7 separate regions of the Homo sapiens genome follow, and all the other regions are linked to region 1. Evidence: promoter capture Hi-C in 16 types of primary human blood cells and fetal thymus (Javierre and others, 2016). All regions are on one chromosome and are shown on one strand. Each heading gives the region's core, a stretch centred on a gene start or on the middle of the fragment in contact. The rest is flanking DNA. Distances are from core to core; before and after follow the strand shown. Region 1 holds the start of CEBPD (CCAAT enhancer binding protein delta). Region 2 has its middle 94 kb from the start of SPIDR. Region 3 has its middle 54 kb from the start of SPIDR. Region 4 has its middle 84 kb from the start of LINC00293. Region 5 holds the start of LOC105375814 (a long non-coding RNA gene). Region 6 overlaps LOC105375815 (a long non-coding RNA gene). Region 7 has its middle 76 kb from the start of SPIDR.

Region 1 (3,961 bases), core at 1,085-3,584:
TCCTGGCTAACACGGTGAAACCCGTCTCTACTTAAAATACAAAAAATTAGCCGGGTGTGGTGTCACGGGCCTGTAATCCCAGCTTCTCCGGAGGCTGAGGCAGGAGAATCGCTTGAACCCGGGAAGCGGACGTTGCAGTGAGCTGAGATCGCGCCACTGCACTCAAGCCTGGCGACAGAGCAAGACTCCGTCTCAAAAATAAAGATAAAAATAAAAATAAAATGTAACTATATTGACTATCGGAATCAGTAAATCATCTCACTGAAAATAGTCTCTGAGTTGTTTTTAGGAGGATATGGTTATCCCTTATAAATATTGATTTTGCATTCCCTAAGTGATTAGGGAGGGCTTTAATAGTGTTTCTATGGCTTCTGAAATATATGAGAACAAAACAATTTGTGCTAGAACTTTTTCTGGATGTGCGTAAGTCCACACTCTATGCATTGCTGGATTTCAGTCTTAATAGGTAATTAATTGTGTGACATCATCATTGTGTACCCTCTGAGTAACTCTAAAGAAATATGTTTGTTCTTTAGGAAACCTATTAAATATCCCATAGTGCAACGTTAGAAATGACCTCTGGAACTGACTGCAGAAACTGCACAGCAGTTAGTAGAGCTTGGTGTTCCGACGCAGATCTGGTGAGAGGCCTGCGCAGGAAGAGACTCGACATGGAGCAGGTGTGACTAGCGATAGTGATTTAATGGATTTGGGCCCGACATGGTGGCTCACGCCTGTAATCCCAGCACTTTGGGAGGCTGAGGCCGGCGAATCTCTTAAGCCCAGGAGTTTGAAACCAGCCTGGACAATATTGTGAGATCCCATCTCAATTTTTTTTTTGAGATGGAGTCTCGCTCTGTCGCCCAGGCTGGAGTGCAATGGAACGATCTCGGCTCACTGCAACCTCCGCCTCCCGGGTTCAAGCGATTCTCCTGCCTCAGCCTCCCGAGTAGCTGGGATTACAGGCGCACGCCACTACGCTTGGCTAATTTTTGTATTTTTAGTAGAAATGGGGTTTCACCATGTTGACCAGGCTGGTTTCAAACTCCTGACCTCAAGTGATCCGCCCACCTCAGCCTCCCAAAATGCTGGGATTACCGGCATGAGCCACTGTGCTCGGCTGAAAAAAACCATATTTTTAATTTAAAATAATAAATGGGTCTGACCAGAAATGCCTGCCTCAAATTGCAGGACACATGACAAAGCCCATTCTTACTTAAGACATTTTCAGTGTGCGATGGGTCTACCGGGATGTAACCCCATCGTGAGTCGAGGCCCATCTGCACCCTGCTATAGCTACTGGTAGATCTTACCTGTTTCCCAAAAAGGACCCAACTACTTTAGGTTCAAGGCACTTTTTTGGAATATTTAACAGGGAAAGAGCCTGGAACTAAAAACAGGTCTAACGCAAGATGCCGCCACACGATGGCACTGCTTCCGTAGACCTGGAAGAAACGCGGGCGCGGGAGCTGGCGGCGGACGCCCGGGTCTGCGGGGTCGGGGAGTAGCGTCCGGCCGGAGAGCCCGCACCTCGAGGAGCCGGCGGAGGACGCGGTGTCGTGACCGCGTCTCCCCCATCTGCTCTGCTTTTGGCGACAGCGTCCCGTCGGCCTTTCGGCCAGGACGCAGCAGCCGCGTCTCTGGGCCTCGACCCCCAGGGCCGGCCGGACCCGGGACCTCCGAGGAGAGCAGCGAGAACCGGCCCGGATTCCCCGAGGCGCCCGAGTGCGGTGCGGGCAGCCCTCCCCGCCTGCCAGGCCGCCGCTGTCCCCACGTCTGGTCCCCCACGCCTCTTCCCGCATCTGGTCCCACGGTGGAGGCGCGGGGCGAGGGCCTCACGCGCGTGCCCACGGTCGGGGGGCGTCCTTGGACGCGCGGGTCCTCTCCCACGGGTCTCCACCCCCCGCCCTCCGGCGACAGGAGCCGGCCTGGGACGCGCGCGCTGCGGCCAAGTCCTGGTTTTGATTTCACTCCCAACCCCGAGGAGCGAGGAGGTTCCAAGCCCACAAACAGGAAGAAGAGAAGGCCCTGGAGTGCTGGCAGAGGGAGTGTCATTCCCAGCAGCGCAGCGCAGGCCGGCCCGGGCCGGGGAGGGAGCAGCAGCGCGGGCACCCTCCTGCAACGTGGGCTGGGGGTCCCCAGGGCCGGGGAGGGGGCCCCGGGGAGGAACTGAGAGGGGGCGCGCCCCGGGAAGGCTCGGGGCGGCTCCGGGGGGCTCCCAGGGCGCCCCCGCCCCTTCCCCCGCGGCCCCGGGGCGCCCCCGCGGTGCCGGAGTCGGGGCGGGGCGTGCACGTCAGCCGGGGCTAGAAAAGGCGGCGGGGCTGGGCCCAGCGAGGTGACAGCCTCGCTTGGACGCAGAGCCCGGCCCGACGCCGCCATGAGCGCCGCGCTCTTCAGCCTGGACGGCCCGGCGCGCGGCGCGCCCTGGCCTGCGGAGCCTGCGCCCTTCTACGAACCGGGCCGGGCGGGCAAGCCGGGCCGCGGGGCCGAGCCAGGGGCCCTAGGCGAGCCAGGCGCCGCCGCCCCCGCCATGTACGACGACGAGAGCGCCATCGACTTCAGCGCCTACATCGACTCCATGGCCGCCGTGCCCACCCTGGAGCTGTGCCACGACGAGCTCTTCGCCGACCTCTTCAACAGCAATCACAAGGCGGGCGGCGCGGGGCCCCTGGAGCTTCTTCCCGGCGGCCCCGCGCGCCCCTTGGGCCCGGGCCCTGCCGCTCCCCGCCTGCTCAAGCGCGAGCCCGACTGGGGCGACGGCGACGCGCCCGGCTCGCTGTTGCCCGCGCAGGTGGCCGCGTGCGCACAGACCGTGGTGAGCTTGGCGGCCGCAGGGCAGCCCACCCCGCCCACGTCGCCGGAGCCGCCGCGCAGCAGCCCCAGGCAGACCCCCGCGCCCGGCCCCGCCCGGGAGAAGAGCGCCGGCAAGAGGGGCCCGGACCGCGGCAGCCCCGAGTACCGGCAGCGGCGCGAGCGCAACAACATCGCCGTGCGCAAGAGCCGCGACAAGGCCAAGCGGCGCAACCAGGAGATGCAGCAGAAGTTGGTGGAGCTGTCGGCTGAGAACGAGAAGCTGCACCAGCGCGTGGAGCAGCTCACGCGGGACCTGGCCGGCCTCCGGCAGTTCTTCAAGCAGCTGCCCAGCCCGCCCTTCCTGCCGGCCGCCGGGACAGCAGACTGCCGGTAACGCGCGGCCGGGGCGGGAGAGACTCAGCAACGACCCATACCTCAGACCCGACGGCCCGGAGCGGAGCGCGCCCTGCCCTGGCGCAGCCAGAGCCGCCGGGTGCCCGCTGCAGTTTCTTGGGACATAGGAGCGCAAAGAAGCTACAGCCTGGACTTACCACCACTAAACTGCGAGAGAAGCTAAACGTGTTTATTTTCCCTTAAATTATTTTTGTAATGGTAGCTTTTTCTACATCTTACTCCTGTTGATGCAGCTAAGGTACATTTGTAAAAAGAAAAAAAACCAGACTTTTCAGACAAACCCTTTGTATTGTAGATAAGAGGAAAAGACTGAGCATGCTCACTTTTTTATATTAATTTTTACAGTATTTGTAAGAATAAAGCAGCATTTGAAATCGCCCCTGCTTCCTATATTCGCAGTGACTCCCGCCCGCCCGCCGGTGGCGCAGGACCCGGCTCGGGAAGGGTGCGTTCCGGACCCGCAGCCAGCGAGCACCAGGGAGCCCGGGCGCCAGGTGTGTGTGTGGGGGGGGCGGGGGGATGGGGCGCAGGCCCGAGCTACTCAGGAGAGAGGGTCTGTCGCTTTTAAAACGCATTAAAGGCTCTCTCCTGGCCTTATTTAACTTGCCTAAGCTAGGTGGAGCACGGCTGAGCTCAGGTAAGCTAGCAGCTTTCCAGCAGAAGGTGTTCTCCCGAAGAACGCAGACCTGGGGAAGGGTTGACTTTTTGGGGGCCCCTGCTGAGAACAGTTCAAGAGCTCCCTAACTGTAGAGGC
Region 2 (3,958 bases), core at 1,194-3,693, 570 kb after region 1:
ACATGTGGCTTGAGGGAATTCTGTATTTGGAGATTTATGGCCAGACACCAGCAGAGTGGGAGTTTGTCACTGGTAGAAAAGGAGTCAGGAAACAGATGATGTGGCTTCACAGAGTCAGATGTGGAGAAGAATATGGCAGAGGGTGAGGAAGCAGGGAGAGGCCCTAGGCAGATGCTCAGATTCCCTGATCCTGCCTCTATGTGCTCCACATGGCCTTGGCTGGGAGACCCCAAAGAGTCTCTGCTGTGACAGATTTCATTGATTGCTCACAGCAGTCCTGGGAGTGCTGAGATAACTACTAGATAAAAACGCTGAAGGATTATCTGTCAGACATTTCTTTATTTTTTATTGATACAATGTCTCTGTTGTCTAGGCTGGAGTGCAGTGGTGCAATTTCGGCTGACTGCAACCTTGACCTCCCTGGCTCAGGTCATCCTCCCACCTCAGCCTCCCAAGCAGCTGGGACTACAGGTGCGCACTACTATGGCCAGCTAGTTTTTGTATTTTTTTTTTTTGTAGAGACAGAGTTCCTCCGTGTTGCCCAAGGTGGTCTTGAATTCCTGGACTCAGGTGATCCACCTGCTTTGGCCTCCCAAAGTGCTGGGATTACAGGTATGAGCCACTGCACCATTTTTTTAAAATTACATATTATTTATATCTTTTTATATAGTTAAAAAACTATCCCATCAAAATTCTATGCACATATTTATTAGGCCCTTAGAAGTTTCTGTGGGACAATTGTGTTGATTCAAACACACACACACACACACACACACACACACACACACACACAAATTGAGTATATTTAAGGAGAAATGCAGCAAGAATGTCTCCATCCAAGGCCACTGTTTTTAGGAGAGCAGGCTTTCTGGGGCATCTGAAGCCTCAGAGAGCCTGGTGTCTGTCCCCAGAGGTGCCTAAATAATTGAATGATGGACCACTGAGGGAGGAGAGTCATGGGCAGGTCTGGGTCTCACCTGTTCTCCAGCCAGGAGCCCTGTGTGAGCGCTCAATTTGCTGTCGCAGAAATGTGGGAAGTGTCTGGCCATTCTTATCCCATGATTAAGGCATGGCTGGCATTATGTACGAATGTATGGTGTATGCCCAACACCATATATGTACAGGCAAGCTTTATTATGCATGAACTGGATTTCACATAAAGTGGTAATTTTATTTAAAAGGGAGTCATTAAAAAGTGTAAATATCACAGTGTGGATATATGTTATCTAAAACTCCAAAAGGTAGTGAAACTGGTAACAAACTACTTCTCATCTTTGGACAGATACAACAACAGCATTAATGAAACTGGTTGCCAGACAAGTATGTACCACTTGCTCCTGTGCCTTAGGAAGAGAGGATGTTATAACATAGGCATTTTGATGCAGGGATTCATGGATAGTTGTTCCCTATTAACAATGCTAAAATTAAGTTCACATTTTTTACTTTGTGTGGGAACTGAAGACTCTTGTTCTTTTGAGGGCTACCTTTCAAGGTGTTGACCTCAAAGCCACTTGTTCCAAAATGCACCAGAGATGGGAATTTAAACCTCTTCACAAAGCAAACCACTGGTAATTCGTAGGAAGTATCCAACATTGTTTTACAACTGATCTCCAATAATATGGCAAACATCATTTCTTTGGAACACAATTTTCTTCATCCCACAAGAAGTTACAGGATAACAAAACTGGTAGTTAAATGACAACAGTCTTGTTACAAGACAGTTATTTCCCAGATGTATGTCACCAGTTCTAATTTCACAGCACTGGGGCCATGACCATGAGGTGGAACCATCCTGCGTTGCACACTGTGACCAGCAGGGGCGTTCAAACTGCCTTTTCTGCCCTTAATGGTGCACATGGGTGTTCTACCTGCAGGCACCGTGTGGCAGGTGTGGCGTCCACAGTGAGGAGAAAGTGAAGCACTCCAGGTCCCTCAGGACTTGCTGGACGGGACACTGCGGCAGCTTTGGGATGACTTGGGACTGCGCCCTTGGGAAGAGACAGCTCCTATCCACTGTGCTGACTGCTGAGGAGGGAGCTTCCTTGCAGTTTCGCCTCAGCGCAGCTCCTCAGCTGTTTTTTCTTCATTGTGAGTATAGAAGCTTTCATTTTGTGGAATGTTCTGTTATTCCCATCAGGTTCTCACTCATTTTCCTCTTTTTCTGTTAGTATTTTAGTGTGTATTTTACAGTAGTATTCATTCCCCTAGGGCTTTTGAGGGTGGCAGCATAGGAGGCTGTAGAATTTTAGGCTTTAGGACTTTTTCTGAGGGAAACTCCTATGTAGATTGAGAGAGAGGGAAACTGTCTGTGGGAGGAAGGGGAAGCCTGGCCCAGGATGGGTGTCGGAGCCACACCCTGCTTGATTGTGCTGCATCCAAGCCTCAGGTGGAAGGAAAAGAATCCCAGCCACCTCCAGAGTTTGCTGATTTTTATTTTTTTTGAGACAGGGTCTGGCTCTGTTGGCCAGGCTGGAGTGCAGTGGTGGATCTCAGCTCACTGCAACCTCTACTTCCTGGAATCAAGGGATTCTCCAGCCTCAGCCTCCTGAGTGACTGGGCCTGTGCCACCATGCCCAGCTAATTTTTTTTTTTATTTTGTTGTAGAGATGGAGTTTTGCCATGGCACCCAGGCTGGTCTCAAACTCCTGAACTCAAAGCAGTCCTCCCGCCTTGGCTTCCCAAAGTGCTGGGATTATAGGTGTGAACTACTGCACCTGGCCTGCTGAATTTTTTTTTTAAAGGCGAAAACACATGTAATTTTATTTTTGTTTAACATTAAGCTTGCCAACTTCTTTCCCTGAACAGCATTTGTCTTGTTTTGATACCCACCTACACTTATATTAGAAACGTACTGCAAACTATTTAGTGATTCCACTTTGAACTTATAGTCGTATGACTAAGATATTTTGAATATAAGCCTATCCATATGCCAGATATAAATTTCAGGAACTCTTAATGTCTCTTCTTTTACAGAAACTCTACCTCTATCCTGATGTAATTAGGTTGATTAAGAAAATTAAAGGCCATGGGCCAGAAAACTAATTTCCACAAATGCAACAAAAGGAAAAGTTTCTCCAGTAACCTCTATGCAATGGGAAATCTTTCTTTTAAGTACCAAGTGAATTTCTTCAACTGTACAATGTATTCTAATTTGAAGGTTTTCAAATATAATACAGTAACAACAAAATATAATAAAATTAAGACTATGAGAAAACAGAGTAAATGGTATAATTCAAATAATGAATAAAATAAAATGACATTATGGATTTGTAATCAACCTATAATTACATATTTAAATTTTACTTTACATACATAAGATCACAGCTAAGGAGGTTAACCATAATGTCAAATTTTATCACCAGCCACTTGTGCTATTTTATCACATTTGAAAATATTCACTCGTATTATTTACTTTAAACAGTGATCTATAAATTTGTTTAGACTATGATAATTAAGGACCTTTTCTTCTTCAGGATAACTTGAAAAATTAAATGATGTATTGACCATACTACTAAAGAAACTTTACTTTTTGATTATGGTCTCTGCATTGAAGAATTTTTCTTTAATAATTTGCAAATCTTCCCATGACCTCTCTGTTCATAGAAATATCATCTTTGAAATAACTTGTGTGAACACTTTATAAATCAAAAATGGATTCACATGACCATATTACCATAATTACCAATTTTAACAGTCTCCTACATATTTTCTATATCACTTTTCTTGATTATAAAATGTCAGTAATATGAACATGCTCTTAATATAACAGAATATTTAATTACATCAGTTTCCCATCAACACACCAAAGTCACTTAATAATTACATTGGCCATTTCCACTGATCAGCAGGAGGCTCTTCCACTGATGACTCCCATGGTTTCCACTCCCTCATTTTTCTTGCCAGATTTAGTTCATGTTCAGCCTAAAGAATCACTTCGGCCGGGCGCGGTGGCTCACGC
Region 3 (4,062 bases), core at 1,425-3,924, 530 kb after region 1:
ATTTTCTGACTGGCCATTGGTTAAGTCATTATTTAAAGACCTGGAATCAAAATAAAGGAATGTCTAGGTTAAGATAAGAGTTTTGGAGACCAAGGTTTTATGCAGATGAAGCCTGCAGATAACTGACTTCAGAGAGAATGGATTGTAAATGTTTCTCATCAGACTTAAAGAGTCTGTTCTATCAGTCTTAAGGTCTCTGTGTTAGTGTTCATGCTGGTCAGCTGTGCCTGAATTCCAAAAGGAAGGAAGGCATAATAAGCCGTGTTCAACTCCAGCTTCCCATCATGGCCTGAACTCGTTTTTCTGGTTAACTTTGGAATGCCCTTGGCCAAGAGGAGGGTCCATCAGTCAATTGGAAGGCTTAAAGTTTTACTTTATAGTTATCAGGCTGTAAACGGAACCACCTAGGATGTGGATCTCTGAGTCCTTTAATAAACTAACTTGTTCTGAGACTATAGGAAGATTGTGTGGAGGGAAGACCCAATGGTGTGAGGGGATTAATCCCCTGTGCTTCTCCTTGAGCTCTGGGAACTGGGGAGGAAGCAGCTGAGGGTTGGGGGTTGATTTGTCAGAGATGTTGGAACCAGAGTGACTCCATCTTGAATACGGGCTGGGTAAAATGAGGCTGAGACCTGCTGGGGTGCATTCTCAAGGGGTCAGGCATTCTTAGTCACAAGATGTTTGTAGTTAAGGGAACAGATTAATAATACTTACTAAACAGATGCAGGACTTAACAGACTCAGGAAATGTCCTGATGTCCTAGTATCTTAAGAACAAGAGCCCTCTTAGTTCTTAGTTTAAGAATATTTTGCTTTAAAGATAAAAATACAGATTCTTATGGAAGACAGTAGTTACACAAGATGAACACTGTTTTGTCATGAGCCCTTGTAGTGGAGCACATCTCCCCCATGATTTTTTTTGCTTTGCTCTCTTGTACATAAAAAGGCATTGTACCTAAGGTGGGCATGTTCCTCCTCTTGCTTTTGGAAATGCCCTGCTCTGCCTATGGAGTAGCCATTCTTTCATTCCTTTACTTTCTTAATAAACTTGCTTTCACGTTACTCTGTGGACTCTCCCTGAATTCTTTCTTGTGCAAGATCCAAGAACCCTCTCTTGGTATCTGGATCAGGACCCCTTTCTGATGGGTGGATAGATGGTGTCTGCCATGCAGCCATTGCTGAGCCAGGCTCAGGGAGAAGGGGCAGAATCTCACAGTGGACTTCAACCAGACTCAGTCTGGTGGAATATTCACAGCCACACAGGGGGCCCTAGAGGGGGCTCAGTGTGACAGCAGAAGTGAGAGGTGTGTGGGCAAAGGAGCAGTTCATTGAGACTTCAGTGGATCCAGTATAGAGGAAGAGCAACTGGCCACGTGGTTGGGGCAGAGGGCACTTTGAGAGAGGGTGGGATAAGGGGAGAGTTTCCAGAGATGAGGCCTGCGGGGGAAATGCAAGACCTCCCAAGGAATTAGCAAGTGGCTTGGTGTGTCTCATGGGGTGGGATTCTAGTCATCTGGATGGGGACAGCTGCCCTGGAGCAGCCCTGGGAGAGAGCTTAGGAAGGAGGCTCACCTGAGAGCAGCTGTGACTTCTGGAGCTGCACAGTTGATTCTTCCCAAGTGAGACACACAGAGGTTTTATTTTCATTGCCTTTTTCTCAGATTCTTGACTATGTTAACCTGGGGTAAGGGATGTGAGAGAAAGCAAGAACCCCCTTTTTAAGGGGCCTGCAGACCCCAAGCACAGAAATAAAGGAAAATCCTGAGTTCCTCTGAGGGCAATTCCAGGCACTTCGCAATCCCCAACAAGTAAATAAGTGACTTGTTAAGAAGACAACAGTAGGCTAAAACAATAGCTAAAGAGGTTAGAGTCCCAGAGATATTAGCTTTCCCTACAGAAACCAATGATAATCTCTTAGCTTATGTCCCTGAGTTGTCTTTCAGAGGCTTGGATCCCCACTGAGGACCCCACAGAAAGGATCCACTGACATATTCCCCCAGATAAAGGGGAAGTGAAGACTAAACTTTAAACGATTTTTGGTTCTAAGTTTCTTCCCAAGGGGTTTAGAGAAAGTCATTCCTCATAACCAGTTAACATTCTTCTACTGACCCCAAATGTTTAAACAAAGCTTCTCTATTTTAGTCAACTGCAAATCAGAAGATCTTTGAATCTACCTATGACCTGTAAGCCCCTGCTTCAAGATATCCCACCCTTTGGGGCCAAAAACAACATGTAACTTCTGTGTATTGATTTGTGATTTTGCCTGTAGCTTCTGCTTTCCTGAAATGTACTACTAGTTTTAAAAACCCTTATCTGCAAGCCACCGGGGAGTTCAGATTTTAAGCAGGAGCCCGCCAGATTCTCCTTGCTTGGTGCCCTGCAATAAATGCCTTCCTTTCTATTCACTGCAAAACCCTCAGTTTAGATATCTGGTTTTACTGCGCTGGGTGAGTGGACCCCAGTTAGATTCTATAACAAGCCCTGGGTGTTCTCAGGCAGCCAGGGGAGGAGGTAGTTACTGATTCTTCCCCAGTCTCTGGGGAGCATCAATCTTGCAGAAGGTGCTTCTAGGCAGAAGCCTGAGCAACAGCAGAACCTCCTGACTGATTCCCATAGGCTCAGCCTCAGGGCCTCCCAGCCCAGAGACCAGCCCACGGGTCACATTCCTTTCTCTTGCAGTGGGGTATGTGTGCATGTGCATGCATGTGCAAATGTGTGTGTGTGTGCATGTGTGTGCATGTCTTCACAAATTCATTCTGTACTACTCCTGCTTCTCTCCATCACTGTTGCCCATCTGCAGGCCGTGGCCTGTATTGCATGAGGAGGGCAGCTGTGAAATTTAGTTGGGGAGGATCCCTTCCCCTCCCCACCCTCTTAAATCCACTCAGAACTGGTGTTTCAGGGAGAGCCTTGGATTCCACAAGTCCAGTGCTTTAAAAGTGAGCCTCAGAAAGGGAGGGGAACAATTCTGTTCCTCCTGGCTGTGGCAGCTGAAAATACCTGGAAATAGATGTGCTTAGAGTCCTGAGAAGACAGGGTGGGGCCTCAAGCCCCAGACACTAGGGGGTCCTGGATCAGTGTTCCAGGCTGGAGGTGCTGGCCTCACAATGCCCCTACCTGCAACTCAGTGAGGAAAAGGGTTGCACACACACGCCCCCAACCTGCTTCCTCTCCCTTCCCTCAGTCTACAGCCTTGAGAACTAAGAGCTCACCTAAGCTTTCATCAGTCACTGCTGTATGTGTGCTCTTGTCTCTGTGTGTGTGATAGTGTTTGTAGATTTTCCCACCATACTTGGATGCTTGTATTTTTTACAGAAAAAAAAATATAGTCACTATCTGAAATATAAGACAATGAAAAGTACATAAAGTCAGCTCCTTGTCATTCATTCAGTGAATATTTATTGAGCACTAGGCCTTCCCAGATACTGGTACCGGGAGTATTGGTGTGAATACAGCAGCCACAGTGCCTGCCCTTAAGAAGCTGACATTCTAGTGAGGGAGACAGACACAAAACAAGTTAATGTGAAATTACCAAGCATGGCACATGCCTATGAAGAAAAGAATAAGGTTCTGGAAGAGAGAGGACCTCAGGGCATCTCCTAAATCCTTATCCATACCCATATCCTTACAATCAATCATGTTTTCCAATGGCTTATTTTAGTGATTTATACATCTTGGCTCAACATCAGAACCATCCGAGGAACTTTTATTTTCTGTACTATGGAAATCTATACCTCACCTGACCTCCTGAATCAGAATTTTCACCCAAGGAGCTATACATTTATGAAGCTCCACAGATTATCTTGAGACATGCAAGATTGAGGACCATTGGCCCATTTAGGAGGCTGTGCACACATGACTCCTGTTTTCTGTGGTGAAAATAGAGGCGAGCTCAACATTCCTGACCCAGCGTGTCTTTCAGATGGTTCCATAGTACCACCTCCTGAGCCGGTTCAGCTTTGGCCTGTGGGGTTCTTTTTTTTTTTTTTTTTGAGACAGAGTCTCGCTCTGTCACCCAGGCTGGAGTGCAGTGGTGCAATCTCAGCTCACTGCAACCTCCGCC
Region 4 (3,974 bases), core at 11-2,510, 810 kb after region 1:
GTGTCCTAACTCCAGGAGAGAGAGCGGGATAATCACCTTTCCTCTGCCTTTTTCTTTAGGATTCTCTCCAGCTGATTGGACAGTGCCTACCCACATCCAGGGCATCTTCCCCACTCAGCCTTACCCACACCCAGGAATAATGCTTTATCGGTGCTCTAGGTATTTCTTAACCCAGTCAAGCTGGCGCACAAAATTAACCATCACACTGAGTAAAAAAGAATTGTCCTCACTGATGTGGGCTGGCATCCTGAACATAACAGAACAGAAGGCTGGGGAAGAGGGGATCTGCTGAGCTAAGGCACGCATCTACTCCTGCCCTCCAACATAGGGGCTCCTGGTTCTCAGGCCACTGGATGCTGATTGACCTACACCATGGGCTTTCCTGGGTCTCCAGCTTGCAGAGGACAGGTTATGGGGCTGACTCCTCAGCCTCTGTAATCACAATTTCCATAATAAATCCCCTTTCATATATCCACATATATACGCTATCAATTTTCTTTCTCTGGAGAACCCTGGCTAATCCCTACCTGAGATCTTGGCTGGGACAGGGCTGTTCCTCCCTCCTGTGATATTGGCAGGACTCGGTTCTCTGTGGGTTATTATGCTGAGCCCCTTGATTTCCTGATGGCTGTGGCTGCAGGACACCCTCAGTTCCTGGCCACACGGACAGCTCATGGTGTAGCAGCTAGCGTCATACAAGCTGGCAAGGGTGAGTGTCTGCTGTCAATAAGGATGTTACAATCTCATGTTATTCAATCACATCTGTCACAGAAGTGGCATCCCCTTGACCCTGAGAGATCCTAACATCACAGCGAGTTACTCAAGAAGAGGGAATTGCACTAGGCTGTGAATACCAGCAAGCAGGGGCTGCTGGGGCAATCTAGAGGCCACCTACTGCAGCCAGCCTGCTGGCCGCTGGTGATGCCACCCCCTGGCATCCAGGTCTTCATGTCACCTCTTCCCCTAAGTGTGGGCAGGACTTGTGGCCAATTCAACAGCCCACGAAATGCCAATCCTCCAAAGACAACATGAGCTTGGAAGTGGATCTCTCCCGAGTCACATTTTGAGATGAGACCTTCAACTCTGGTCAACATCTTGGCTGAAGGCTCATGAGACCTCCTAAGGAAAAGAACCCAGGTGAGCCCAGATTTCTGCCCCTCCAGAAACTGCGAGATGATGACTGCAAGGAATTTAAAGCTGGTATGTTTGTGGAAATGTGTCACACAGCAATAGATAACTAATGCACCATTTGCAATAATTCCTCCAATGGCAGGAACTGCCGACAAAAGGTTTGGGATGCTGGGAGGATTTCTGGTATGAAGAGATTCAGAAGCTGTGCATCTAAACTTCCCGGAGAGACTTAGTGTAGAGATAAACCCTGGGGTAAATGAAAAGAGAGCACTGTAGCAAGTCTGTGCATAAAGCACTGGCCTATGTGATACAGTGATTAACAAGTCCACCATGTATTATGCAATATTATAGAATACCCCTCTTTTCTGTGGCTCTTGTTAATTTTTTGTACCTCTGAATGGTTATGCACTTGGCAAAAAGTTCCTGATGTGTGAACATAAATGTCCAAAGCATGGGCCCGGCCTTTCCTTTCCTTGAAGTTTTCACTATTTATCACCAGACATCAACTATCTGTTTGAGTTTGGCACTGGAGATGCTGACCTGAGCTGGCCTCCTGGCATAGTTTTTTCACTGGGGGAAACTTTCACCCTAAAAATGGCATCCCTCTAGCAAGGAGTCATGTGTCTTGAATCCTACTTTCGGCTCAAATCCTGGGGTGCTATTGGCTGAGGAAAAGTCCTCCTTTTGCTGCCTTTGAGATGTTTGTAAAGCCCCATGGCCCCCCAGCCTGGCCTGTTTCCCCTGGGAGGCCTCCCCATGGGCAGGACATGCTATGTGCTTCTCATGCCTGATGGGGCTGCTCATGCAAGCCCAGGTGAAGTGATGGGTGATGGAACCTGGGAGGGATGGTGTGAGTCCTTATGCTTCTTGCCCTGGTGCTCAACAATTCTCCTTGGGACCCAAGTGGCCCCAGATGTTGGCATGCATCAGGAAGGATCCAAGAACAGCTGGGCTGGCCCGATGGTCTACCTCATGGGTTTCAGGGCACTGAGAGCTGGCCAGTCACATTCCCATGGCAGCCCAACAAGGCCCAGCAGAGGGGTGGGTGGTGGGATGGCAGGGCTTGTAGGGCAGAGCATTCTGATGGGCCAGGGCCTAGTTTGAGTAGGGCTGCTCTGTGGGCCTATATCCACAGGCATTGCTGTGGCTTTGGCCAAGACCTCTGGGCTCCCTGAACATCAGGCAGCCTCTCCTCCTTTAGGGAAGATGGACAGTTACCCCTGAGCAGGGCCATGCGGGGCAAAGCACAATGGTGGTTGTGAAGTTTTTTCAGAGACAAGATGCTGTAACCACAACACGTGTGGATTTCCACTGCAGGAGCACCCAGTGCCATGTTAAAAGACATGTGAGTTTGGAGTTTATGTGGGTATGGTATTGGCTTAGTGGTTTCTCCCCATCTTTTTTGTCTACTTTTCTCTTTGTCTACCTGCTTGCCATGAGCCTGAGGGCAGGGCCTGAATCCAGCAGCACCAGAACCCAGGTGGCCTGGCTCTCCAATAAATGGAAAAGAAAGCTGGGTGGAAATATGGAGGACAATGGTAAAGGCCTGGATTACAACTGAGTATAGACAGATCTGAAGTGGCCAGTGTCCAGGTGCTGAACTTATAATAGTCCATCCTATGCGGCTTAGCGATTCCAGCCATCAGCCATTCCTGGTCCCTGCTCTGCCTGCCTGCAGACACCAGGCTCCCCACAAGGCACTTTCCCACTGCCCTTGATCTCAGGGCATTCATGTCTCCCTGCTCTATTCGGAAACTATCCTGCACAGACCACAGCTAAGCACACCACTACCATAAGAGTCTAGCTGCATTTCTCTCTGGCCCCAACTCTGGCCCTCACTCCTCATTCTGGTTTCCTCTCTTTAACCTCTGAGCCTCTGCACTTGCTGTTCCTCTTGCCGAGCACACCCTTCCTCTCCATTCCACATAGTACAATCTTACTCATGCATCAAGCCTGAACACAGGAGGATGGCTCCGACCACTCGGTGAGTTCCCACTTCTCTAAATTCCTGTTATTAGATCACCAGTCCTCTTACTTTGTCCTCAATTGTAGTTGGACATGATTGATTTAAACGACAGAGGCATTTGTCTGGCTTCGTCTCTGAGACTGCCATCTCCCTGTAGACAGGGAGCAAACGTTGTGCATCTTCTATGTGTCTCCGCAGCTTGCATGGTGTTGGCAAGTAACCGAGACTGGCATGTGCATTGAGGTGGATGGGCGAGCAGGCCAAACACCGCTCCCAGGAAGATGGAGAAGATAGGCAGAAAGGCGGCAAGGATGCAAGACAGAGAAAAGCTTGGGGTGAAAAAATCCTACCTAGGTGCAGGTGCTGGGGCTGCAGACCCTAGAGCTTCTCAAAGGCAACTTGATGTTTTATAGTTCCATCCAGTCTCCAGCATCACCGTGTGGCCGCAGCATCTGTGGTATCCAAGCGACTTTATCCCTGGGGGAGTATGGGCATCTCCCTGGGAGGGTGTCCACAGGAGGACGTCAGGGCTCTGTGGGTGGCCTGGCATCTGGGGTCTGGGGATCGTGCTTGGAAGGAATCAGATAATGCCTGGAATCCAAGGCTTGACTCCTCCTTGTCTCCTAAGAGCTCCTTGGGAGTTGGGCTCCCGTTAAGTGGTTTTTGACCCCAGTTTTCCTGATTCTCAGATTCATCTGGCATGGAGGCTGGGTAGCTTTTCTGCATTCTGAAGCTTTCTTCCCACTGGCAGTGAGTTTATGGGAGTGCTTCTGTGCTGTTGTTCTATTTTTTACAGGAAAGGTTGAGTGACACTTCGAGGACAGGGCACACAGGCTGCCTTTGGGCCAGTTCCCAGCCAACAGGAAGTCACAGCTGG
Region 5 (3,981 bases), core at 63-2,562, 790 kb after region 1:
CTCTTGATGACTGCAGACCTTAGGACTTAGCCCCCATAATACTCGTTATATATAATTATGTCATATATCTAATTAATATAAATTACATAGTTATATAAATTGATATGAATGTATAATACTTGTAAACATATAATGTATATCATATGTAAGTATTTCTCTAGGGAACACTGACTGATACACCCATCCAGCCCGCAGCTGGTTCTGGCTGTACTGCCAGGGTTCTTTGCTCCATGCTGAATGTCTAAGTCAGGTCTTGTTGCTAATTATGCAAGAGTGATGGAAACCCCTAACACCAAGAAATCATTCAAAGAAAACATTATTTTTCCATTTTATCTCTCTTTTGCAAGATAGTAAGATCTCATCAATACTTACCCTAGATCAGTATCAAAGAGAAGAGAGTTCAGCAAAGACAACACAGGGAAGAGAAATTGAAAGGTATCAATGGCCCTTATGTGCCATCTATAAGATAAATAAAATTCTACCTTATTTAATTCACATGTCAATTTGATTTGGGCAGTGATGCAATCAGTCTCAGACATGAAGAAAGCAGTACTCTGAGAGATAAAGTTGCCCATCCACAGTTCATAACCAGTGAGTGGTGGAGCTGAGAGGAAAGCCTCCTGCCCCATAGCCTCATCCCCTCCCCTAGCTAACCGTGGGCCACCATGACAAGTCCACCCGTCCTGGAGCCCACACTCACCCCTAGCCCTGCCATGCTCACCTTGAGCCTCACGCACTTCTCAGTTCTCCCCTGATCCTCCTACAGCATGGACCTGGGCAGACATCCTGTGAACTGCTTGAGTGCAGTCAGGAACCCAGGCCCCCCAGAGTGCCAAGGAGTCAGGTTTCACCTGACCCCTCAGTCCAGAGACAATGACTGACTTCAGACACATCTAGCAACAGCCTCAAGCAGAGCACTGAGCTGCGCCTGCTGGATACAGGGCTATTACTCACCTCAGATTTCTCCTGTCCTCTGTGAAATGGCAAATAAATAATGGCCCCTAATCTGCCCTAGGCTCAGATCTGCCTTTGCACCTAATAGCTGTGTCCTGTGACCCTTCCTTCCCCTCTTGTAGCCCTGCCTCCTCACCACGGCCCCCCCAATACTCTTCTTTTACATCTTCTCAACTTGAACTCTGCTGCAAGTGAGAGGAAGTAAAAGAAGAGTATTGTGAACCCACATCTCACTGTGCACTCTAACCATGCCCCCATCTGTCATGATGCTTGACACAACCCAGCCCAGTGGTTAAAGGATGTGATTCCAGAGCCTGAGCCCCTGGGTTGGTCTTAGCTCTGCTGTGGTTCCTAGAAGTGTGACCTTGGCAGTCACTGTGAACTCTGCTCACTGGGTTCCTCATATGTAATGTGAGGAATATTGCGAGGGCTAAGGGAGTAGGTACAGAGGAGAAGCAAAACAGTGTGCCTGGGGAAAGTCATCAGCACTGGTGAGAATCATAGAGTGATGCACTGGGCACAGAAGGGAGGTGGTCTTAAGGAGTGATAGGCAGAGAGCGTGAGGGTGGCGTCCAGATCCTGGGAAATCTGCTTTGATGCAGCGCTGGTTTCTTGGTGTAAGTCAGTGATTAATAAATCGTCATGCTGTGTGCTGATGATGTTTACATTTTCTGTCTTTGTATTATACTTTTAAAGTCAACATTTTAAAAATAATGCCTGGAAATTTAATAATAATTCCTGGGAGGTGATCAGACCTCTAAAAGCTGTGGAGATGGTGAGGTCCAAGCATATCTCTAAGGAAGAAAAGAAAATTTCATGAATATCTGGGGTAAAGTTGGGGTAAAGAGGAAATTGCATTAAGGGAGATGATATATAGATAAGAAAGATAGGTATAAGAGAGACATAGATTAATTGGTGATAGGTGATAGATAATAGATTGATTGATTAATTAATAAATGACAGATAAATAGATGAATGTATGACAGATGATAGTTGATGGATGACAGATGGATGATATAAATTAATAGGTACCAGATAGATGAGGATAGATTGAAACAGTGATTGTGATAGACAGTTGATAGATAATTGATTAATAAGTGATAGATGATAGATAATTGATTGATAGATCAATAGGTGATAGATAATAGACAGATGATACATGACAATTGCTGATAAATAGATAGATGATGAGTAGGTGGATGGGTGAATAGATGGATAGATGATGAGTAGATGGATGGGTGAATAGATAGATAGATGATAGAAAGAACAGTTATGGGTGACAAGTAGGAAGGACCAGAGAAGAGAGGGGAGAATAATGGGGGCCTTGGGGTTACTTCCTCCTTTGTCCCCTCCCTAAGCTCAAGACCCCTTTGTGACTGTACCATATCTTTGTGATGCGGGTCAGGAACTCTAGTCTAGAGAGCACATTCTCTGCTCAGTTGCCCGGGGAAGCCACTAGCTACAGATGCTGGAGAATTTGGGCTGGTTTCTTCTGCATTTTAACAATCCCTGGGGCTTTCTTTGGTTCTTTCTTTATTTGAGTGAGGTTGAGATCATCTTTCTATCATGTCTCTGCATTCAGTGATATCCATATTTATCCATGTTTGAAAAGACACAGACATCAATCTGGTAAGGAATCCCAAGGGCTGCCCACATTAGAGGTTAACTTCTGTTTTCCTATTCCTATTTTCTCTTTTCATAATCTATCCTTGGGATGGAGAGACCTCAGGAATGGGAACTCTCGGGGGACATTAGAATAGCATTGGTCTAGGAGAACAGGTTGGGCAGCACAGAAGGTAGGTGGGGACAAAGGCTTTTATCCAAAAGTTACAGACCATTTGCCCAGGTGTGGTAAAATCACAAATACCATGGAATTCAGGCCCATAGATTGGTTTGTTAAAGAATTCAGGACACCAGAGGGGAACAGGCCCTCAAGAGTTGCTCACCAGCAGCCTTTCCGTCACAGGAGGCTCTGGGCCACAACTCTCCTAAGAGTTAGGGCTGAGCTGGAGAGCAGTGCTGACCTGTGAGAGGCTCTGGCTGCTTTCTACTCCTCCATTTGTCCTCAGGAGGCAGAATCCTAGAGAATGGAGCAGAAGTTCCCAAAGGTCTGCAAATCTGTGCTCTTTCTCAGTAGAGGACTTTCCAGGAGTCCCAGGACTGCTGTCTGAAATATGCATTTAGAAGCAAATATGAAAAACAATTCTTTATTTGAAATTGACAGAGAAGGAGTCAAACAAAACATGATCCATTTTAAAAGTGAATAACATGAAAGCAATATCTCAATTAAATCAGCATAGGAAGTCACGTAATTAATTAAGAAAAGTTCACTGTTTTTTTTTTTTTTTTTGACAGGGTCTTACTCTGTCACGCAGGATGGAGGCTGGAGTCCAATGGCACAATTGCAGCTCACTGCACCCTCAAACTCCTGGGCTCAAGGGGGCCTCCCATCTTACCCTCCCGGATAGCTGGGACTACAGGCGTGCACCATCATACCTGGCTAATTTTTAGTATTTTTTGTAGAGACGGGGTTTCTCCATGTTGGCAAGGCTGGTCTTGAAATCCTAGGTTCAAGCAATTCTCCTGCCTCAGCCTCCCAAACTGTTGGGATTACAGGTGTGAGCCACTGTGCCCAGCCTGCTGCTTTTTTAGAAAGAGGAGAGAAGGATGGTCTAAAACTCCCATTTTTTCTTGTCATTCACCTGGCAACTCAGAGTCAGGAGGAAGATGGGAGCTTTGAAGTGAGGTTCTGCTGCCCCACCCTGAGTTCCTCAGGGGTCACCTTCATCTCACCCTTCCCATTAGTTCCAAGTCCCCAGACTGAAGACAGCAGTTCCTGGAGTCAGTTCTCAAAAGAGTGAGTTCTCAAGGGAGAGGCCCAAAAAAAGGGAATCAGAACCTGGAACACTTCTCCCCATCCCTGTTCTGCCCCTCATAGGAATTAAACAAGATGGAAATGGGCAATGCTTCTTACCCACTGGTGATAATATGAGATGCCACAGAAGAAATGTTGGGGATTTTTGGAGG
Region 6 (3,850 bases), core at 392-2,891, 690 kb after region 1:
TGGAGCAGCTGGGACACAGGGCTCCATGTCCCAAAGCTGCACAAAGCAGTGAGATCCTGGGCACAGTCAAGAAAACTATTTTTTTTCTCTTAGGCCTTCAGGCCTTTGATGGGAGGGGCTGCCATGAAGATCTTGAAATGCCCTGAAGACATTTTTTCCCATTGTCTTGGTTATTAACATTCACCTTCTCTTATGCAAATTTCTACAGCCACTATCTTGAATATCTCCCCAGAAAGTGCATTTTTTCCCCAACACATGGTCAGGCTGCAAGTTTTCCAAATTTTTATGCTCTGTTTTTTTTTTAAAATGTAAATTCCAATTTCAGACCATCTCTTTGTGAAGACACATGACTATACACGTTAAGAAACAGTCAGGTCATGGCCGGGTGTGGTGGCTCACGCCTGTAATCCCAGCACTTTCGAAGGCCGAAATGGGTGGATCACGAGATCAGGTGTTCGGGACCAGCCTGGCTAACATGGTGAAACCCCGTTTCTACTGAAAACACAAAAATTAGCTGGGTGTGGTGGCACGTGCCTGTAATCCTAGCTACTCAGGAGACTGAGGCAGGAAAATCATTTGAACCTGAGAGGTGGAGGTTGCAGTGAGCCAAGATCACGCCACTGCACTCCAGTTTGGGTGACAGAGCTATACGCAGTCTCAAATAAATAAACAGCCAGGTTATATCTTGAATGATTTGCTGCTTAGAAATTTCTTCTGGGATGGGCACGGTGGCGCTTGCCTGTAATCCCAACAGTTTTGGAGGTTGAGGTGGTTGGATCACTTGAGGTCAGGAGTTTGAGACCAGCCTGACCAACATGGGGAAACGGTATCTCTACAAAACGTACAAAAATTAGCTGGGTGTGGTGGCATATGCCTGTATTTCCAGTTATGCAGGAGGCTGAGATATGAGAATTGCTTGAACCCAGGAAGCGGAGATTGCAGTGAGATGAGATCACACCATGGCACTCTAGCCTGGGTGACAGAGCAAAAGTCTCTCAGAAAAAAAAAAAAAAAAAAAAATTCTTCTGCAAAGATACTCCAAATAATCTCTCTGAAGTTCCAAGATCCATAGTTCTCTAGTTTAGGGGAAAAATGCTGCCAGTCTCTGCTAAAGCATAGCAAAAGTGATTTTATTTTTGTGGCAGTTGTGAATGAGATTTAATTTATGATTTGGCTCTTGGCTTGCCTGTTGTTGTATGGGAATGCTGGTGATTTTTGCAGATTGCTTTTATGTTCTGAGACTTTGCTAAAGTTGCTTATGAGCTTTTTCTGTGAAGCTGTTGGGCTGGGATGACGGGGTTCTATTGAAATAGAATCATGTCATCTGCAAACAAAGATAGTTTGACTTCTCTTTATATTTGAATACCCTTTATTTCTTTCTCTTGCCTGATTGCCCTGGTCAGAACTTCCAATACTATGTTGAATAGGAGTGGTGAGAGAGGGCAGCTTTCTCTTGTGCTGGTTTTCAAGGGGAATGCTTTTATCTTTTGCCTATTCACTATAATAGTGGCTGTGAGTTTGTCATATAAGCTTTTATTTTGAGGTACGTTCTTTTAATACCTGGTTTACTGAGAGTTTTTAACATGAAAGCATGTTGAATTTTATCAAAGGCATTTTCTGCATCTGTTCACATAATCATGTGGTTTTTGTACCTAGTTCGGTGTATGTGATGAATCACATTTGATTTGTGTGTGTTGAATCAGCTTTGCATCCTGGGAATGAAGTCAGCTTGATTGTGATGGATAAGCTTTTTGCTGTGGTGGATAAGCATTTTTGCAGTGCTGGTGGATTCAGTTTGCCAGTATTTTGTTGAAGATTTTGGCATCAATCTTCTTCAAGAATATTGGAGTGAAGTTTTCTTTTGTTATGTCTCTGCCAGGTTTTGGTGTACTGGCCTCATAGATTGAGTTTAGCTGTTTGGAATAGTTCCAGATGGTACCAGCTCTTCTTTGTACCTCTGGTAGTATTCAGCTGTGAATTCATCTGGTCCTGGGCTTTTTTTTTTTGTTTGTTTGTAGGCATTTATTACTGCCTCAAGTTCAGAACTCATTATTGGTCTATTCAGGGATTCAGTTTCTTCCTGGTTCAGTCTTGGAAGGTTGTATGTATCCAGGATTTTATCTGTTTCTTCTAGATTTTCTAGTTTATGTGCATAGGGGTGTTTATAGTATTCCCTGATAGTTGTTTGTATTTCTGTGGGGTCAGTGGTGATATCCTTCTTATTATTTCTGGTTTTGTCTATTTGAATCTTCTCTCTTTTCTTCTTCATTAGTCTAGCTAGTGGTCTATTTTAATAATTTTTTCAAAAAACCAGCTCCTGCATATGTTGATTTTTAAAAGGGTTTTTCGTGTCTCTATCTTTTTTAGTTCAGCCCTGATTTTGATTATTTCTTGCCTTCTTCCAGCTTTGGGGTTTGTTTGCTCTTGGTTCTCTCATTCTTTTAGTTGTTATTTAGGTTGTTGACTTGAGATCTTTCTGGCTTTTTGATGTGGGCATTTAGTGCTGTAAATTTCCCTCTAACACTCCTTTAGCTGTGTCCCAGAGATTCCCAGGTGTATTGTATATTTGTTCTCATTAGTTTGAAAGAACTTCTTGATTTCTCCCTTAAGTGCATTATTTACCCTTTCAGAAGCAGGTGGTTCACCTTCCATGTAGTAATATGGTTTTGAGTGAAATTCTTAATCCTGAGTTCTAATTTGATTGTGCTGTTGTCTGAGAGACTGTTTATTGTTATTTCAGTTCTTTGGATTTGCTGAGGAGTGTTTTACTTCCAATAATGTGGTCAGTTTTACAATAAGTGCCATGTGGCGATGAGAAGGATGTATATTCTGTTTTGGGGTGGAGAGTTCTGTACATATCTATTAGGTTCACTTGATTTAGAGCTGAGTTCAGTTCCTGAATATCTTTGTTAATTTTCTGTCTCAATGATCTGTCTAATATTTTCAGTGGGGTGTTAAAGTCTCCCACTATTATTGTGTGGGAGTCTAAGTCTCTTTCTAGGTCTCTAAGAACTTGTTTTATGAATCTGGGTGCTCCTGTATTGGGTTCATACATATTTTGGATAGTTAGCACTTGTTGAATTGAGCCATTTACCATTATGTAATGCCCTTTTTTGTCTTTTTTTGGTTTTAAGTCTGTTTTTTTCAGAAACTAGGATGGCAACCCCTGCTTTTTTCAACTTTTTATTTGCTTGGTAAATTTTCCTCCATCCCTTTATTTTGAGCCTATTTGTGTCTTTGCACATGAGATGGCTCTCTTAAAGACTGCGTACCAATGGGTCTTGATTTTTTATCCGGCCTGCCAATGTGTGTCTTTTAATTGGGGCATTTAGCCCGTTTACATTTAAGGTTAAAAATATTATGTGTAGGCTGGGCGCGGTGGTTCACACCTGTAATCCCAGCACTTTGGGAGGCCAAGGCAGGTGGATCACGAGGTCAGGCGTTCGAGACCAGCCTGGTCAACATGGTGAAACCCCGTCTCTACTAAAAATACAAAAATTAGCTGGGTGTGGTGGTGCATGCATATAATCCCAGCTACTTGGGAGGCTGAGGCAAGAGAATCACTTGAACCAGGGAGTTGGAGGTTTCAGTGAGCCAAGATCATGCCACTGCACTCCAGCCTGGCGACAGAGCAAGACTGTCTCCAAAAAAAAAAATTATTAGGTGTAAATTTGATCCTGTCATCATGATGCTGCCTGATTATTTTGTAGACTTGTTTATGTGGTTGCTTCATAGTGACACTGATCTGTGTACTTCAGTGTGTTTTTGTAGTGGCTGGTAATAGTTTTACTCTTCCATATTCAGTGCTTTCTTCATGAGCTCTTGCAAGTCAGGTCTGATGGTAATGAAT
Region 7 (3,548 bases), core at 276-2,775, 550 kb after region 1:
CACTTACTTAAATTCACTGGTTTATTATAAAGGATATAACCGACACAGATGAAAAGGTGCATAGGGTGAGGTATGGGAAGAGGTGCACAACCATCCAGTAACCTTCATGTGTTCAGTCCCCGAGAAGCTCTCCCAATCCAGCCCCCTTTGGGTTTTTATGGAGGCCTCATCACACAAGCTTGATGGAGTAAACTACTGACCACTGGTGATTAACCTGCAGCCCCTCTTCCCTCCATGGAGGTTGGGAGACAAGGCTGGAAGTCCCTATCCTCTAACCCTGCCTTGGTCTTTCTGGTGACTGGCCCCTATCCTGAAGCTACCTAGGGACTGCTGGCCATCAGTCATCTCAGTGGCATACAAAAAGGCATCACTTCAGTAATTCTAAACGTTTTATGAGTTGTATGATGGGAAATGGGGTCAAAGACCAAATTCATAATTTATGATATCACAGGGATGGAAAAGAAACAGGAGACCGAGGATTTCTAGCCCACACTAATCCCTGTTATGACAGATATGGAATCCCAATCCACAGGAGGCAGGAAGCTGAGAGGTGAGACAAAACCTATGAAAATCAGAGATGAGGGGCAGGTCTCAGTTTCTTGTGACTGAAGTGATAGAGCCCTGCCAGGCTCTCACTTGGATTGACAAACTAAATAAAAATATATACCCTTAAAACAAAGAACACATCTGAGTATGCATCCGAAAGAATGGAAGTTAGGATCTTGCAGAAATATCGATACACTCTTATTCATTGCAGTATTAATCACAGTTTCAAAGACAGGGAGGCAATGTAAGGTCCACTGATCAATGAATGTTTACAGAAAATGTGGTGTATAGATGCAATGGGATACTATTCAAATTCATAGAGAATTAAATCTTGCCATATGCTACAACATGGATAACACTGGAGCACATTATGCTGAGTGAAATAAGTCAGTCACAGGAGAAAAAATGCTGCCTGGCTCCATTTGTGTGAGGTCTCTATCATAGTCAGCCTAACAGCAGTGGAGTAGAATGCCAGGGGCAGAGGGAGAAGGAAATGGGGAGTCACTGCTCAAGGGCTATGAAGCTTCAGTTATGCAAGATAAGTAAGTTCTAGAGATGTGCTGTGCAACACTGTGCTTACAGTTAACAATGCTGTATAATGTACTTAAAATTTTGTTAAGAGGGTAGATTTCATGTTAAGAGATCTCATGTTAAGTGTACTTATTAAAATGGAAAAAAAAGGCCAGGTGCGGTGGCTCACGCCTGTAATCCCAGCACTTTGAGAGGCCGAGGCGGTGGATCACGAGGCCAAGAGATCGAGATCATCCCGGCCAACATGGTGAAACCCTTTCTCTACTAAAAGTACAAAAAATTAACTGGGCGTGGTGGCAGACACCCAGCTACTTGGGAGGCTGAGGCAGGAGAATCATTTGAACCAGGAGGCGGAGGTTGCAGTAAGCCGAGATTGCGCCACTGCACTCCAGCCTGGCAACAGAGCGAGACTCCGACTCAAAAAAAAAAAAAAGAAAAAAAAAACCCTTAAAAATAACAGGATGGAAAAAACATACCATGAAACCATTTACAGAAAGTTTCTGTGGCTATATTAGTGGTACTAGGAAGTGCAGAAATCCTCAGCCCTTTGTTTGTATTGGGAAAAAGATTTCAGCCAAGAGACAAGTTAACCAAAAAAGAGGGAATTTATTGAAGGAAGATAGGGAGCAGAAACTCTATGTGGCGGGACAGTACTTTGAAAGGTGCAGTTAATGAATGCATACTGCTTTTTCTCGATACTGGGGCAGGTAAAGATGGACCCTTTTCTGCATCTGTGTTGTGAGTAGCTAATCATCCACCCTGTAGTGCCATGAAGGTCAGGGCCATTTGCAAGCACAGAACCTACATTTTCTTTGTACGGTGATTCCACATGCACATATGAGTCACTGCTGGTCACTGAGTGAGGCAGCATCCTTACTCTCAGTGACCTTGCTAGTAAGCTTTCCTGGGGTTTGATAGTCAGTAATAGGTGCATGTGTAGGTATATGGATGTACGTATGTGTATATGTGTGTGTGTATATATATAGAGAGAGAGAGAGAGAGAGAGAGAGACAGAGTCAGAGAGAGCACATGAGTGCTGGGGGAGGGGAAGAGGCTTCACAGAGGTCTTGAAGCATGAGGAGTAGTTTGCCAGGAGATAGGGGATGAAGAACATTCTAGACAGATGGAAAAGGAGGAGCAAAGGCATGGAATGGGGACTAGAGAGCCTGGAGAGGGCAGAAGGGAAATGGCTGGAGGGGTCATGAAAAGCCTGGAATGCCACTCTCCAGAGATTGAGTTCCACCTTGCAGTACAGAGGATGACCTGTGGGTTTTATTTCATAAGTCATCTTCATTTCATTGCTAGTGTGCTAATTTCAGAGCATGTGTTAAGAAGGATTCCGAGGTGGGGCCAGGCACGGTGGCTCATGCCTGTAATCCCAGCACTTTGGGAGGCTGAGGTGGGTGGATGACGAGGTCAGGAGATCGAGACTCATCCTGGCTAACATGGTGAAACCCCATCTCTACTAAAAATACAAAAAAAAAATTTGTTCGGCATGGTGGCGGGCGCCTGTAGTCCCACCTACTCGGGAGGCTGAGGCAGGAGATTGGCGTGAACCCCGGAGGCGGAGCTTGCAGTCAGCTGAGATTGCGCCACTGCACTCCAGCCTGGGAGACAGAGTGAGACTCCATCTCAAAAAAAAAGAAAAAGATTCCGAGGTGGCATCAGGGCAAAAAGTGACAGATCAGTTAGCAATGTCCCCTGTACTGCAGGGGTGGAGCAGTACACTCCACTAGAGTGTACTGGGTGGGCACTAGAGATTTGCCACCCCTGCTGTAGGACAGTGAGAGCCACTGAAGGATGGGAGAGGGTTGGGGTAGAGGAGCAGGGGCTCGGTATGTGTGTTGTAGAGGATCAACCGGAAGCTCTGGGAGCACGAATCATAGGGAGGCAAGGCTAAGGTCATGTTGCCAATGAGCCAGCACTGAGTTAAAAAATATCTGAGGAGCAAATGAACCGCTGAGTGTCTACAAGGCAAAGAGTGGACATTTGCCTTGTGGAACACAAACGCCAGTATATTTTATGTGCAGAAATGTGAAAAGGAAGAGACAGAGGGACCAACGGAGACACAGAGCAGACAATGGGTGCACAAACCAGCCGTTTGTCCTTCTCAAGAGCTGCCCAGTTGGGAGTCAGCCCCACTCTCCTCAAAGGCCCTTTAGCAGAGGAGGGGACTGCAGCTCCTCCAGGTCTAGGGTGGCTTCAGGGTGGAAGGCACTCTCCCTGACATAGCTCCTCTAAGGGCTGGGCCTCTCACCTGTCTGAATCCCAGGGTGATGCCTGCACAGCCCAGAGCTTCCTAAATGCAGGTTCCCAGGAACCGACCCACTCAGCAGCTGCCTCCCCAGGGAACCCATGCAGACCAAGGGACCAGGACAAAAGGGCTTCATGGGCACTCCCTAGGTACTATTGCTGTGAATAAGCATAGGCCATTGGAAGTCACTGGCATTGAAAAGGAGACAGGGCACATG

Evidence for each region. Contacts are between HindIII fragments. The CHiCAGO score rates a contact against its expected background, and 5 or more counts as called.
Region 2: a fragment that was not itself captured here is called in contact with the fragment with the promoter of CEBPD in region 1 in 2 of 17 cell types (M0 macrophages and monocytes); the score reaches 5.3 in M0 macrophages.
Region 3: a contact is called between a fragment that was not itself captured here and the fragment with the promoter of CEBPD in region 1, in 11 of 17 cell types (M0 macrophages, monocytes, M2 macrophages and 8 more). The highest score is 28.8, in M0 macrophages.
Region 4: a fragment that was not itself captured here is called in contact with the fragment with the promoter of CEBPD in region 1 in 1 of 17 cell types (neutrophils); the score reaches 6.1 in neutrophils.
Region 5: a fragment that was not itself captured here is called in contact with the fragment with the promoter of CEBPD in region 1 in 1 of 17 cell types (erythroblasts); the score reaches 5.5 in erythroblasts.
Region 6: a contact is called between a fragment that was not itself captured here and the fragment with the promoter of CEBPD in region 1, in 1 of 17 cell types (total B cells). The highest score is 6.0, in total B cells.
Region 7: a contact is called between a fragment that was not itself captured here and the fragment with the promoter of CEBPD in region 1, in 5 of 17 cell types (M0 macrophages, monocytes, neutrophils and 2 more). The highest score is 10.2, in M0 macrophages.

What each region holds. Positions count from the first base shown.
Region 1 is chr8:47,736,537-47,740,497 of GRCh38, reverse strand. It overlaps CEBPD (CCAAT enhancer binding protein delta), which reads left to right and starts at 2,334. Exons shown (of 1, transcript NM_005195.4): 1 at 2,334-3,585. The coding sequence starts at 2,378. The coding sequence ends at 3,187. RefSeq lists silencers at 1,506-1,975, 2,066-2,145, 2,186-2,295, 2,786-2,975 and an enhancer at 2,372-3,310. The HindIII fragment of the contact is 19,422 bases long and covers 1-3,961 here.
Region 2 is chr8:47,165,394-47,169,351 of GRCh38, reverse strand. It overlaps the pseudogene NDUFA5P12. Among named protein-coding and RNA genes, the nearest start is that of SPIDR, 94 kb to the left of the region's middle. The HindIII fragment of the contact is 679 bases long and covers 2,104-2,782 here.
Region 3 is chr8:47,204,920-47,208,981 of GRCh38, reverse strand. No RefSeq gene overlaps it. Among named protein-coding and RNA genes, the nearest start is that of SPIDR, 54 kb to the left of the region's middle. The HindIII fragment of the contact is 1,089 bases long and covers 2,130-3,218 here.
Region 4 is chr8:46,922,442-46,926,415 of GRCh38, reverse strand. No RefSeq gene overlaps it. Among named protein-coding and RNA genes, the nearest start is that of LINC00293, 84 kb to the right of the region's middle. The HindIII fragment of the contact is 4,336 bases long and covers 1-3,428 here.
Region 5 is chr8:46,950,265-46,954,245 of GRCh38, reverse strand. It overlaps LOC105375814 (a long non-coding RNA gene), which reads left to right and starts at 2,362. Exons shown (of 3, transcript NR_188092.1): 1 at 2,362-2,583. The HindIII fragment of the contact is 7,979 bases long and covers 1-3,981 here.
Region 6 is chr8:47,047,601-47,051,450 of GRCh38, reverse strand. All of the region lies in intron 3 of LOC105375815 (a long non-coding RNA gene), which reads right to left. Among named protein-coding and RNA genes, the nearest start is that of LINC00293, 210 kb to the right of the region's middle. The HindIII fragment of the contact is 217 bases long and covers 1,533-1,749 here.
Region 7 is chr8:47,183,141-47,186,688 of GRCh38, reverse strand. No RefSeq gene overlaps it. Among named protein-coding and RNA genes, the nearest start is that of SPIDR, 76 kb to the left of the region's middle. The HindIII fragment of the contact is 907 bases long and covers 1,072-1,978 here.